Linked DNA regions of Homo sapiens: region 2 is linked to region 1. Evidence: promoter capture Hi-C in 16 types of primary human blood cells and fetal thymus (Javierre and others, 2016). All regions are on one chromosome and are shown on one strand. The core of a region is centred on a gene start or on the middle of the fragment in contact, and the rest is flanking DNA. Distances in the headings are between cores, read along the strand shown. Region 1 holds the start of TREH (trehalase). Region 2 overlaps DDX6 (DEAD-box helicase 6).

Region 1 (4,111 bases), core at 110-2,609:
CTCACCCACACCAGCGGGCCCTAACTTCTCTCTACTTCAAACTGTGCTTCTGTTACTGTTTTGCTTCTATTATTATTATTATTATTATTTGAGATAGAGTTTTGCTCTTGTTGCCCCGACTGGAGTGCAATGGCATGATCTTGGCTCACTGCAACCTCCACATCCCAAGTTCAAGCGACTCTCCTGCCTCAGCCTCCCGAGTAGCTGGGATTACAGGCGTGCGCCACCATGCCCGGCTAATTTTGTATTTTTCATAGAGATGGGGTTTCACCATGTTGGCCAGGCTGGTCTCGAACTCCTGACCTCAGATGATAGCTCCCACCTTGGCCTCCCAAAGTGCTGGGATTACAGGCATGAGCCACCGTGCCCAGCTGTTTTTCTTCTATTATTATTGTTCTTGCAGGAGCTGGTAAAGTGGCTGATGTGGCCACAGCTCCATAAATCCATGTGGAACGAAGGGTGGACATCGCCTGAGTCCAGGAGACAGGACAGGGTCACTCATCTCTGTCCCTGGTGATGGAAACTCAGGCTCAGGAAAGAGCCTTGACCTGCCCTGGGTCACAGAGAGAATATGAGGGTCAGGGCTCAAGCCCAAGTGCTGTCTTCAGGCCCTTAGGCTGCCTCTCACACCCAGACTAGGAAGCTGGAGCAGAAAGTTTGCTAGAACAATCCTGAGAAGAGGCCTGCACAGTTCAAGGGGCAGCTTGGAGGAGGAGAGGAAGGGAGGGCGGGCTCTGGCCAGCAGGCTCTTGGACCTCAGGCCAGGCTCTGGCAGCTGCGTCTGGTATCAGGACTGCAGGTCCCGACAGGGGGCGGTGGCTCACGCTTGTATTCCCAGCACAGTCGCCAAGCCTAATGTCCCTTCCAACGGTGGAAAATTTTGGTAAAAATCAATGACAGGCTGGGCGTGGTGGTGCATGCCTGTGATTCCAGCTACTCAGGAGGCTGAGGCACGAGAATCTCTCGAACCCGGGAGGTCTAGGCTGCAGTGAGTGGAGATGGTGCCACTGTACTCCATCTGGACGACCGAGCAAGACTCTAACAACAACAACAAAAAAAACGGACTGCAGGTGCAGTGCCCAGCACAGAGCCTGCTACATAGGAATTCTCATTTTCTTCTCTTCCCTACTCTTTCCTTCCTTTATAATCTCTTCCTTTCCCTCTGAAGTACCGACCCCAGAGCTTGAGATCTCATCCCAGCCTCCCTCTTATTGCCATCCTCCCCTGCTGCCTTCCCCACACCCCTACCTCTCACAGGGTGGGGGTAGGGCCTCCTGGGACCCCAGTCCCAGCCCCAGCAGCAGTAGCAGGCACAGCTCCCAGGTCCTCCCTGGCATGGTGGCTGTGACTGTGACTGAATGAGCAAGCCCAGGCACCTTCGGCTTGCTGGGCACAGCCTGGCTCACCTGCCTGTCCAAGTCGGCCAAAGTCCAGCCTTTGAGGCGTGGCCACCTGAGGGGACGTGTGCTTGGTCTGTGTGTGGCCCGCTTGCCCCTCCTGCTCTCAGGGCACAGTGGCCACCTCCCTTGCTTCTACTTTGCCTCTTCTATTTCACAGTCTCAGCTGGTGCCAATGGCTCAGGCCCTTCCCTCAGAGCATGGTGGTGGGGGTGGGGAGTGGGCACCCAAAGGCCAGGGACACAGTCGAGGCCACACACCTGTAACCTGGATGCCAGGTTCCTTGGGTGGCCCCAAGACCACCAACCTCAGAGAGTTACCATTTCCCTTAACATTTCAAATGGAATGGCTCAAGATCCTGTCCCTGGTGTGGTGTGAAATTCAGGGCCTCTCACTGTTATCTGCAAGAGATACAGCGGAAGCACAGGACAGTAGAACCATTCTGTCTGGGGAGGACTAAGGGAGACCCACAATAGTGTGTCATTTGTAATGAGTCTTTTTTTTTTTTTTTTTGAGACTGAGTCTCACTCTGTCGCTAGGCTGGAGTGCAGTGGCGTGATCTCAGCTCACTGCCACCTCCGCCTCCCGGGTTCAAGCAATTCTCCTGCCTCAGCATCCTGAATAGCTGGGACTACAGGTGCCCGCCACCACGCCCAGCTAATTTTTGTATTTTTAGTAGAGACGGGGTTTCACTGTGTTGGCCAGGATGGTCTCAATCTCTTGACCTCATGATCTGCTCGCCTTGGCCTCCCAAAGTGCTGGGATTACAGGCGTGAGCCACTGCGCCAGTCCTAATGAGTCTTGATGACCGCATAGGAGTTTGCCAAGGGAAATGGGCTGGAGACCACTACAATGTATGCAGAGCATGTGAAGAGAAGAGCAAACCCCTCAGCCTAGCTGCAGAGAACTTGGTGTTCATGCAGGGAAGGGTTTTGAGATAGACTGGAGGAACATGTTGGCACCAGTCTGGAAATGGTCTTTGCCAAGCCAAGGAATGTAATTCCTTGTAATTCCCCAAAGTGGAACCAGCAGAGAAGTTTGTGAGCTTAAGAAGCAGATTCAGGCTGGGTGCAGTGGCTCATGCCTGTAATCCCACCACTTTGGGAGGCCGAGGCGGGTGGATCACCTGAGGTCAGGAGTTCAAGACCAGCCTGGCCAACATGGTGAAACCCCGTCTCTACAAAAATACAAAAATTAGCTGGGCATGATGGCGGGTACCTGTAATCCCAGCTCCTCAGGAGGCTGAGGTGGGAGAATCGCTTGAACTCGGGAGACAGAGGTTGTAGTGAGCCGAGATCATGCCACTGCACTCCAGCCTGGGCGACAGAGTAAGTCTCTGTCTCAAAAAAAAAAAAAAAAAAAAAAAAGCAGATTCGGTTACTTTAGGAGGCTCATCCCCTCAACATATGGAAGGTGAGCTGAAGGGACAGGGGACAGGGGGTGGGCAAGGCACATGGAGTTTAATGATAGGCATGACCTCTCCTGAAGGACTTAGGTTTGCAGTTAAGGATGTCAGTTGTGGCACCTGAGCAGTGTTTACTGCTATTAAAAAGAAAAACCTTAGACAAATTAAATTTAACCATTTATTCAAGCAAAGAAATGACTCATGAATCAGGCACCACTCTGAACTAGTAAAGGTTCAGATAGCTCCACCCAGTAATGTGGGCAGCTGGCATTGTTTTTTTTGTTTGCTTTGTTTTTTGAGACAGGGTCTCGCTCTGTTGCCCAGGCTGGCATGCAGTGGCTCCATCACAGCTCACTGCAGCCTTGATCTCTCAGGTTTAAGGGATTCTCCCACCTCAGCCTCCTGAGCAGCTGGGACCACAGGCACATGCCACCACGCCCAACTAATTTTTAAATTAAAAATAATTTTTTTTTTTTTAGAGATTGGGTCTCCCTATGTTGTCCAGGCTGGTGTGGAACTCCTGAGCTCAAGCAATCCTCCTGCCTCATCCTCCCAATGTATTGGGATTACAGGTGTGAGCCACCATGCCTGGTCAACAATTTTTAAGTGTACAATTCAATTTCCTTTTATTACATTCACAATGCTGTGCAACCACCCTTGCATTCTTTGGATAAATCTCACTTGGTCATGATGTCTAATCCTTTTAATAAACTGTTGGTTTTGGCTTGCGAGTATTTTTTTGAGGAATTTTGCATCAATATGTATAGAGCATATTTGACTGTAATTTTCTTTCCTTGTTTTGTTTTGTTTTTTTTTTTTTTTGGACACATAGTCTTGCTCCATCACCCAGCAGGCTGGAATACAGTGGCATGAACACAGCTCACCACAACCTCGACTTCCTGGGGCTCAAGTGGTCATCTGGCCTCAACCTTCTGAGTAGCCAGGACTACAGGTGCATGCCACCACGCCTGGGTAATTTTTAAATTTTTTTGTAGAGACTACATCTGACTGTGTCGCCCAGGCTGGTCTTGAACTCCTGGCCTCAAGTGATCCTCCCGCCTTGGCCTCCCAAAGTGTTTCTCCCCAAGTGTGAGCCACCATGCCCAGCCCTCTTGTGATGTCTTTATCTGGTTTTAATATCAGGGTAATGTTAGCCTCATAGCATGAGTTAGGAAATATGCCCCTCTTCTATTTGTGGAAGTGTTTGAGAAGGATTGTTAATTCTTTAAATGTTTGGTAGAATTTACCAATGAAGCCATCTGGTCCTGGACCGTATTAGGCAGAAACAATACATATATGGGGGATGGGG
Region 2 (4,154 bases), core at 1,163-3,662, 92 kb after region 1:
AACAAACTATAAAATACAATAGATCGTTGAAAAAGCTTGATCGTTGAAAAATTGTTAAAAGGAAATTATGTGGAATTTTTTTTTTTGAGACAGAGTCTCGCTCTGTCGCCCAGGCTGGAGTGCAGTGGCACAATCTCGGCTCACTGCAAGCTCTGGCTCCCGGGTTCACGCCATTCTCCTGCCTCAGCTTCCTGAGTAGCTGGGACTACAGGTGCCCGCCACCACACCCGGCTAATTTTTTTTTTGTATTTTTAGTAGAGACGGGGTTTCACCGTGTTAGCCAGGATGGTGTTGATCTCCTGACCTCGTGATCCACCCGCTTTGGCCTCCCAAAGTGCTGGGATTACAGGCGTGAGCCAGCGCGCCGGGCCATGATGTGGAATTTTAATTTTTTTTCTTTTTTTTTTGAGACAGAGTTTCGCTCTTGTCACTCAGGCTGGAGTACAATGGTGCGATCTTGGCTCACTGCAACTTTCGCCTCCTGGTTCAGGCGATTCTCCTGCCTCAGCCTCCCGAGCAGCTTAGATTAACGGCGTGTGCCACCACACCCAGCTAATTCTTGTATTTTTAGTAGAGACGGGGTGTTTCACCATGTTGGCCAGGCTGGTCTTGAACTCATGACCTCAGATGATCCACCGACCTCGGCCTCCCAAAGTGTTGGGATTACAGGCATGAGCCACTGTGTCTGGCCTGAATTTTTAATTTCTAAAACTAAGATACTAGGAACCAAATTCACAGTCACTGACATTTGTCCCTTCTATGCCTGGGCTAACGACAAAAACAAACAAACAAACAAAAAACAGCTTTAGCCCTTTAAAGCTGCTATTGGTAGAAATGACTAAATAAGCAGGATGACTTCCATCTCCCACGACAACACTCTTTCTACCTAGAGCTCCAATCACAGGATATAAATGGGTTCCATATGGTCAGAACAACACAGCTGCCAGAACAACTGTGAAAATATTGTTGTTGGCTGGGAACGATGGCTCATGTCTGTAATCCCAGCACTTTGGGAGGCTGAGGTAGGCAGATCACCTGAGGTCAGGAGTTCGAGACCAGCCTGGCCAACATGGTGAAACCCCATCTCTGTTAAAAATACAAAAATGGTCATGGTGCGCACCTGTAGTCCCAGCTACTTGGGAGCCTGAGGTAGGAGAACTGCTTGAGCCCAGGAGGAGGAGGTTGCAGTGGGCCAAGATTGCGCCACTGCACTCCAGCCTGGGCAATGGAGCAAGACTCAGTCTCACAAAAAAAAAAAAAAAGAGAGAGAAAAGAAAAGAAAATACTGTTGTCTTGTTCTTACAGCCAGCATTAAAGACTCTGCTTATTAAGGTAAAGCAAACAAAGAAGAAAACCTTGGCTTTAACCCTTTGGTCTTAAATTTCTTCCCTCATCACAGATAAGTGAACCATTATTTCCAGTTGTTCCAGAGGCTCCCATTACCCTGTCACCTCAGGTTTTCTCTTTTGTGGTTCTGTGGTGCCAGTAGTCTGTAGTTTTTAACAGGCTGCCTGCACACTACTCAGTTTTACAGTATTGAAAAAGTAAGATAGGTGGTCTCTGATGGTCTCATAACGACTTGCTGGGTCAGGTTCTTTAAAGTGTAAACCTTTTTTTCAATCAAGTGAGGCAGAACAGAATTAGACTAGAGGTATCCTAATCCCCCTTTTCAGTTCATCTTTTGACTGACTTGATTAAGGCCATTGACTTCTATTCCTTTGCCCTCTTTGACAGGGATTATACCCTACAAAAACTGTTCAAGGATAAAGCTTTAACAAAGTACATGTGATAGACTGTAAGTTAAGACACCCTGATATTTTGCCTTATATGATGGCCATTATGATTAACAGTCAGTGAATTCAGCACATCCACACTGCCTCTTACCAGTGTTTCTCAGGAAATAATGAAAAGCAAGAGAATTCAAGTCAAGTTCAAAAAGCTGTGAAATACAAGAGGAAATTATGAGGAACTGCCAGGGAGAAGGCAAAGGAGGAAGGAAACGAAAACTTTTTTTAAAACTTACTATGTGCTCAGCACAACTTTCAAGTTAGGTACTTTGTTTTACAACTGACAAAATGGATCCTAAACAGGATTAGTTTGCCCAAGGTCACAAAGCAAGAAATGCTTTAGCCAGTATTTGAACTTAGATCTGCACATAACATGTAGGCAAGAAGTTGGAGAAAATGGAACTCTCATACACTGCTAGTGGGAATGTACAGCTACGCTGGAAACCAGCCTTGCAGTTCCTCAAAAGGTTAAAAAGAGTTACCATATGAACTAGCAATTCTAGGTATACAGCGAAGAGAAATAAAAACATCTCCACACAAAAACCTGCACCTGAATTTTCATAGCAGCATTATCCTTAATAGCCAGTTCCTTCTATGTTTTTTTTTATAATAGTACAAACTTTATTCATAAATAAAACTTCATAAGGTTAAAGCAGGGTCAGTTCCTATTTTAAAAAGGGAACAGGGGAAGGCAGCCTGCTATTTTATTTAAAATCACAAGTTAGGTTTTTCAGACGGATGACAGTTGAGATCATTAAATCCCCTTCCTACTTCTCAGATTTTCACAAAATAGCACATTAAATCCTCAGTCCTTGGAAAACAACCCCAAATGTCTACCAACTGATGACTGGATAAATCAGAAGTAATAGAGCCATACAATAAAATATTATTCAGGAAAAAGGAATGGAATATTGATACAAGCTACAACACAGATGAACTCGGAAAACATTACGCTAAGTCAAAGAAGCCAGTCACAAAAAAAACACATACTATAGGATTCTATTTATATGACATGTCCAGACTAGGCAAAGCTAGAATGACAGAAAGTATACCAGTGGTTGTTTAGGGGTGTGGGAAAATGAGGTGTGACTGCTAAAAGGGTTTCTTTTGTGGGACTGATCAAAATGTTCTAAAATTTATTGTGGTAATGGTTGCAGAACTCTAAATGCACTAAAAAGCATTAAATTGTATACTTTTGATGTGTGATGTCATTTATATCTCAATAAAGCTATTACCCCCAAAAAACAAAACCCCAAAAAACCAACCCCACAAGCTTAGGGCTGACATCTGCCACCTTAGGTCTCCAAATTCACATTCACTGTAACGTTTAGATAATGACTGAAGAGTATTTGTTGTGTTTTGGTTACTCTAGTATCCCTTTACTAAGTAACACCCCAATTTCCTTCTAAGGAATTACATATGCCCTGGTCTCCCCTGTCCCAACAGACCAAGCCTCACCAATTTTCTAAGCCAAGTGGTAGACACATAGCCCACACTGGGCCAGCGGAATGTTGCCTCCTAAGAATCTAAATTGTTATAGTGCATCCATTACAGCTTCCTAAGTCCTTCAGAGCTATCTCAATTCTTAGTCATTTCCAAGTATGTTTCTCTAGCCTTCTCAATCTTGTGAATTCCCGTTATTTTTCCAATAAATTTCCTTTTGCTTAAGTTAGATCGAGTTGGTTTCTGATGCCTATAATTAAAGAATGGTTTATTTTCCAATCTCCTAGCATTGAGAGGCATTTTACAAAAGTGTGGTACCAACAAAAGCTCAACATCACCCAACTAGCTGCATTTACACTGACTGCTTCCTCTTATTTTCCAAACCTTAATTTCCAAGAGGGAAAAAAAACCTATGGTTAAAGGCCGGGCGCGGTGGCTCACGCCTGTAATCCCAACACTTTGGGAGGCCGAGGTGGGCAGACCATGAGGTCAGGAGATGGAGACCATCCTGGCTAACATGGTGAAACCCCGTCTCTACTAAAAAAATACAAAAAAATTAGCCGGGCGTGGTGGCAGGCGCCTGCAGTCCCAGCCACTTGGGAGGCTGAGGTAGGGGAATGGCGTGAACCCAGGAGGCAGAACTTGCAGTGAGCCAAGATTGCACCACTGCACTCCAGCCTGGGCGACAGAGCGAGACTCTGTCTCAAAACAAAATAAAACAAAACAAAAAAACAACCTATGGTTACTCCAGACGAGGTAGCAATGATTGTTACAAATGTCCCCTGCTTAACAGGAAAAAAAAAAAGGGAGATGGTAATTTCTAATTATATCTCTAATTTAGGCTGGGGATGGTGGCTCACACCTGTAATCTCAACCCTCTGCAAGGCTGAGGCAGGAGAACTGCTTGAGGCCAGGAGTTCAAGA

The links. The method cuts DNA at HindIII sites, captures the fragments that hold promoters and counts their contacts. A CHiCAGO score of 5 or more calls a contact.
Region 2: a contact is called between a fragment that was not itself captured here and the fragment with the promoter of TREH in region 1, in 1 of 17 cell types (naive CD4 T cells). The highest score is 5.7, in naive CD4 T cells.

The regions. Positions count from the first base shown.
Region 1 is chr11:118,678,291-118,682,401 of GRCh38, forward strand. TREH (trehalase) reads right to left here and starts at 1,360. Exons shown (of 15, transcript NM_007180.3): 1 at 1,249-1,360. The coding sequence starts at 1,337. RefSeq lists enhancers at 590-1,251, 1,252-1,911. The HindIII fragment of the contact is 8,736 bases long and covers 1-4,111 here.
Region 2 is chr11:118,769,637-118,773,790 of GRCh38, forward strand. The region is part of intron 4 of DDX6 (DEAD-box helicase 6); the gene reads right to left. Among named protein-coding and RNA genes, the nearest start is that of DDX6, 19 kb to the right of the region's middle. The HindIII fragment of the contact is 1,291 bases long and covers 1,768-3,058 here.